Regions from separate parts of the Homo sapiens genome. Here region 2 is linked to region 1. The links are contacts of gene promoters, found by promoter capture Hi-C in human tissues and cell types (Jung and others, 2019). All regions are on one chromosome and are shown on one strand. The core of a region is centred on a gene start or on the middle of the fragment in contact, and the rest is flanking DNA. Distances in the headings are between cores, read along the strand shown.

The links. Contacts are between HindIII fragments. The study calls those that stand out against the background at their distance.
Region 2: a contact is called between a fragment that was not itself captured here and the fragment with the promoter of IGSF22 in region 1, in 1 of the 25 tissues and cell types used here (lymphoblastoid cells).

Annotation. Positions count from the first base shown.
Region 1 is chr11:18,724,668-18,727,488 of GRCh38, forward strand. IGSF22 (immunoglobulin superfamily member 22) reads right to left here and starts at 1,521. Exons shown (of 23, transcript NM_173588.4): 1 at 1,407-1,521. The region is part of intron 2 of IGSF22-AS1 (IGSF22 antisense RNA 1); the gene reads left to right. The HindIII fragment of the contact is 11,359 bases long and covers 1-2,821 here.
Region 2 is chr11:18,095,642-18,098,755 of GRCh38, forward strand. SAAL1 (serum amyloid A like 1) reads right to left here. Exons shown (of 12, transcript NM_138421.3): 3 at 1,130-1,213. Among named protein-coding and RNA genes, the nearest start is that of SAAL1, 8.9 kb to the right of the region's middle. The HindIII fragment of the contact is 6,383 bases long and covers 1-3,114 here.

The DNA of each region.
Region 1 (2,821 bases), core at 271-2,770:
TGGGCTTTAGAAGGAAGCTGTGTCTCTTATTCCTGGGCCCTGGGGACCCCGGCACTGGTGGAATGCTAAAACAGATGACAAAACATCACTACAATTCTGCTTGTGTTTGCGACATGGTAAAGGCAAAGGTTTAGTTTTTCTTACATTTTTCTTTGAACTGGTAATTCAATCACATAGTTAAAGAATAAAACAATATAAAAATCCATATGGACAGGCTCCCTCCCACTCCTGCGTCTATCTTACAACCTTCCCCATTGCAACAGGTAGCCAGTCTCTAGGCTCCTTCTAGACCTCCATCATGCAAATAGGAAAACTCATGTGTTCTTATCATCTTCCTTTTTTTTTTTTAATTAAAAAAGCACATAAGGTAGCCCATTATACACACTATTCTGACCCTTTCTTTTTTCATTTAATGTGTCTTGGAGATTTTTTCCATACCAGATGATAGCGTTTCCTCATTCCTGTTCAGAGCACCATGTTTTCTCAATGTTTTATTTAACCAGCATTGCGGTTTTTTTTGGGTGATCTCGGCTCATTGCAACCTCCTCCTCTCGAATTCAAGCCATTCTCCTGCCTCAGCCTCCCCAGCAGCTGGGTTTACAGGCACGTGCCACCATGCCCAGCTAATTTTTGTGTTTTCAGTAGAGACAGGGTTTCATCTTGTTGGCCAGGCTGGTCTCAAACTCCTAGCCTCGATTGATCCGCCTGCCTTGGCCTCCCAAAGTGCTGGGATTATAGGTGTGAGCCACTGCATGTGGCCAGCATTGCAGTTTTTTTGTTTTTGTTTTTTTGAGACAGAGTCTTGCTCTGTTGCCCAGGCTGGAGTGCAGTGGCACGATCTTGGCCCACGACAACCTCTGCCTCCCAGGTTCAAGCAATTCTCCTGCCTCAGGCTCCCGAGTAGCTGGGACTACAGGCACCCGCCATCACACCCGGCTAATTTTTTGTATTTTTAGTACAGATGGCGTTTCACTATGTTGGCCAGGCTAGTCTCGAATACCTGACCTCGTGATCCGCCCACCTCAGCCTCCCAAAGTGCTAGGATTACAGGCGTGAGCCACCGCGCCTGGCCCAGCATTGCAGTTTTTAAAGTCCTATTTCGTATATGAGGAAACTGATGTCTGAAAGAAATGACCTGTCCAAGGTCACTCAGACTAGACTCCTAGCTTTTGACTCCAGTCCAGTGGCGTCCCAGAGGGCTCCAAAGCCTTCTTTAACCCAGGTAGTTAGGGGTTAAACTCTATTCCCTCTCTCCACCCCCTAATATATCTCTGCCTGGGCTGCTTCTACCTTTGGGTTCTGAGACTACTCCCCTGTTCCTATTCCTGCCCTCTACCCTATAGTCCCCTCTGGGCTCAGAAGGTGGTCAGCTTTGTCCCCTTCCTGAGGGAGGAGGGGAGCCTTACCTTCAGCACTGACCAGTCCCTCCCAACACTCGAATGCTGTGTCCACGGCTTTGGAGGCTCAGCTAGTGCCTGGACTGTAGGGTGGCCCGTCTCCTTCTTCCTTTGCCCCAACAGTGAGGCTACCAGTGTCATCTGTTCCTTAAATGTCTGGCCCCCTGGGGGCGATTCCTTAGTCAGGCTCTGCAGCTGTCTCAGCTAGATGGCACACTGCTTGGTTGTGGGGGGAGGGGGAGGGCGGTGGAGAAGGGAGGCGGGAAGCAAAGCTGGATCCAGGCTGGGGGAAACACTGAAGGCCAGGCGGGAAGGAGGCTGAGGGTGGCAGTCCAGGGGTACTTTTTTTGTTCCCTTGTGGTACAGGTTTTGGCTCTCACTGCTGCTGGGTAGGACCTCTCTGAGCTGAGGGGCTCAGGGTAGTGTGTGTGCACAGGCACACACTCAGGTACAGGTGCATGCATAGTCCAGCAGGGCTCAGGGAGCAAAGCAACAGGTCTGTATTTTCCAGGGACTGGGACACGGTGAACTGGGGAGGGCCTCTGGGATCTGCTGCGTTGCTACACAAATCCAGGGGTTCCCATTCATGTTGCACTCCTATGTGTGGTTCATACACAGCCTGAGTATCTTTACAAGGCCACCCTGGGGAAGAACAGGGAAATGTTAGGTCTCCTTCCTCTTCCCACTTCAACAGCCCAATCTCCCTAATCTGGGTAGAAGAGTAGGAGGGCCCATCCTCCGGGGGTTGTGGGGAGGTCTCTGCTTGAGGGTGACTGGAGAGTATGGCCACCTCTTCTCAAGGACTTCCATCTGGGCTGCTTCAGCCACCTGTTGTTTTCTTTTCTTTTCTTTTTTTTGAGATGGAGTCTCTGTCACCCAGACTGGATGCAGTGGCACGATCTTGGCTCACTGCAACCTCTGCCTCCCAGGTTCAAGCGATTCTCCTGCCTCAGCCTCCTGAGTATCTGGGATTACAGGCGTGCACCGCTACGCCCGGCTAATTTTTGTATTTTTAGTAGAGATGGGGTTTCACCATGTTGGTCAGGCTGGTCTCGAACTCCTGACCTCATGATCTGCCACCCCTCGGCCTCCCAATGTGCTGGGATTACAGGCGTGAGCCACCGTGTCCAGCCCACCCTGTTGTTTTCTCATCATCTGTAGCACACCCCGCATGCCTGGACCCTGGATCCCACCCAAGGTTCTGGCACCTTGTAAGGACTTGTTGGTCAGCACCCTTGCCCTGGACCCCTCCTTCTGCCCTGGGGTGACCCCCACCTGCCAGCAGTGGCATCATGGCTACTTTTGCTCCATCCCAGGGGGGCAGGGGACAAGAATAGAGCAGGAGTGTCCAGGATGGCTCAGGATCTCAGCCCACATGCAGATTCCCTGGGCCCCTTGGGAGGAGCTACTCTGAGCCCAGGCCT
Region 2 (3,114 bases), core at 51-2,550, 630 kb before region 1:
TATTCAGTAAACAGCAGTTTTTCATAATTATAATTATTGAACAGATATTTACTAATCCATGATATGCATAGCACATGGCAATTTAATTGGCAATAAAGCACAGTACACTGCACAGTATATAAAGGCCTCTCCTTTAGTCTTTATCTATTGTTCTTGGCAGTTTACTAACAGCAATGACTACTGAAAGCTTACTTACTTACTTGGGAAGGTGTGGAAGGAAAAGTACCACTGTGAATTAACAGATGCAAATACTGAGAGGGGACAGAAGGCACACAAAGGGAGGCACGGAGACAGCATGAGACAGGGAGTAGAAAGGTCTGGCTAAATCAGAAGGGTTACCTGGCTATCCAGATTTTATGCTGGAAAGATGAGTTAGGTTCAGAGAGTAGAGGTCTTAAGCAGCAGGCTGAGTTTAGAATGGTTTTCAAGCAATGGTGGATTTTGTCAGTAAAAAAGAGAAATCAACTGAAAAATGGGAGGCCCAGGCTCTGTTCCTTGTTCTGATACATACTAGCAGCATAACAGTGGTTATGCCTAACTCGTCTCCACAGCTGGTAAATGAAAGTGCTAATTTCCCTGGTCCGGCCTGAATCTAAAATTCTATGATTTTCATAATTTTAAATTATTAAATTATTAATAATTTAATATTTTAAATTATTACAGGCATTTAGCTCACGCTTATAATCCCAGCACTTTGGGAGGCCAAGGTGGGAGGATCACTTGAGGCCAGGAGTTCAAGACCAGCCTGGGCAACATAAGGAGACCTTTGTCTCCACAAAATAAAAATAAAAATTAGCTGGGTGTGGTGGCTTACACCTATACTCCCAGTTACTTGGGAGGCTGAGGTGGGAGGGTCCCTTGAGCCCAGGAGGTCAAGACTGCAGTGAGCCGTGATCACGCCACTGCACTCCAAGCCCTGGAGACATAGTGAGACCCTGTCTCAAAAATAAAATAAAATAAATTTAAATAGCAAATTACCTAGGACCTGGCAATGTTCAATTAACATCTACAGGCTGATTTGTTGATTTATGGTCAGTAAGAAAATCAAAGTGAGAAAAATAAAAGACTATCCAGCACTATCTGTTCTTATTGCTTCAAAGAAGAAGGCTTTAGAAATGTACATACTTACTCTTAATCGAGGACACTTGGACTTGGCCAGTACTCCCATGAATATATCAGGAGCATTAAATTCTTGGAGAAATAAAGCCACGTCCTGAAAAGAAAAATGATTATTAACTTGGATGTTGAATATTCCTCCCTAAACCCTAAAGCTCAGGCAACCATAAAATTCTATATTAAAATTAGAATTTTACGCCAGGCGCAGTGGCTGACACCTGTAATCCTAGCACATTGGGAGGCCAAGGCTGGCAGATTGCCTGAGCTCAGGAGTTCAAGACCAGCTGGGCAACACGGTGAAACCCTGTCTCTACTAAAAATACAAAAAAATTAGCCGGGCATGGCGGCATGCACCTGTAGTCCCAGCTACTCAGGAGGCTGAGGCAGGCGAATCGCTAGAACCCGGGAGGCAGAGGTTGCAGTGAGCTGAGATCACGCCACTGCACTCCAGCCTGGGTGACAGAGCGAGACTCTGTCTCCAAAAAAAATAAAAAAATAAAATAAAATTAGAATTTTAGACACAAGAAAAAAAAAACACAGGCTTAGGAACTGTGTCAACAGACAAAAGTGATGTTAGAGAGTCTTTATGGTAACTAGTCCCAGACAATGGAACAATTTCATAAACAAATCTAAACTACCTACAATACTCCAGAGGATTATCCCACTCTTTTCTGCCCGAATCTATTTACCTTAATAATTTTTCTGCCCACTAGGAATTCTCATTAAACACATTCAAACACATTTGGTGATTACCTATCAGGTATTAAACTAGAAGCGGGGGACAAGGGAAAAAAGCAACACGCTGGGCGCAGTGGTTCACACCTGTAATCCTAACACTTTGGGAGGCTGGTTAGAAGGCCGAGGTGGGTGGATTACTTGAGCCCAGCTTGGGCAAACATAGTGAAAACCCATATCCACAAAAAATACGAAAATTAGCCAGGTGTGGTGGCACATGCCTGCAGTCCCAGCTACTTGGGAGGTTGAGGTGGGAGGATCACTTGAGCCTGGGGAGCTCAAGGTTGCAGTGAGCCATGACTTTGCCACTGTACTCCAGCCTGGGCAACACAGCGAGAAAAAAAGGAAAAAAAAAAAAAAGGTAAAACTTGGCTGGGCGAGGTGGCTCACGCCTGTAATCCTAACACTTTGGGAGGCCAGGACAGGCGGATCACTTGAGCCCAGGAGTTCGAGACCAGCCTAGGCAAACATAGTGAAACGCCATCTCTACAAACAATACAAAAATTAGCTGGGCATGGTGGTGTACCATCTGTAGTCCCACCTACTCAGGAGGCTGAGGTGGAAGGATTGCTTGAACCCGTGAGGCAGAGGGTGCAGTGAGCTGAGATCTCGCCACTGCACTCTAGCCTGGGCGACAGAGTGAGACTTTGTCTCAAACAAAAACAAAATTCCTTCTTGTCCTCCAAGAGCTTAAAACACGGTAGGGGAAAGAAGTCAAGAACTGCTATTGGGTCCTGTCCAAAACCAGAATTTGTGTTTTCAAAATCATCAATAGAATAAAAATTCTGATCACAATGTAACTGTGGCAGCCTCATAACTTCTTCCTACAGAGTCTGCCACAGTGCCTAAAGGGGCGTAACACACAGGTGACATGTGAGTGGACATGTGGCCCCAAATGAGCCAAATCTCACCTAGGAATGTAAGACACAAAAGCTAAGTCAGTTTGCTTGGGGACCTGCAATGTAAAATATATAAATAAAATTAAGTCTCTGGCTGTCCACTGCTTCAGATTTTCACTAAATGTGAGGTGTGTATTTGAGAAGCCTTAACTTAAAATATAAGCTGCATGGCTTATGTGAAAATTAAGGGCCCTGGAACATCTCAAAGAGACAGGCAATTATTCTCCACAGCAAGTGAAACCAGTAACCTGCCAGACAACTGACTGAGAGAGACACACTCTACTTACTAAAGGACCATGGTCAGAGAAAATAGTATTTTCAAAGATACACTCTAAACTGAAAGTCATAATGGCAGATTCTCTTC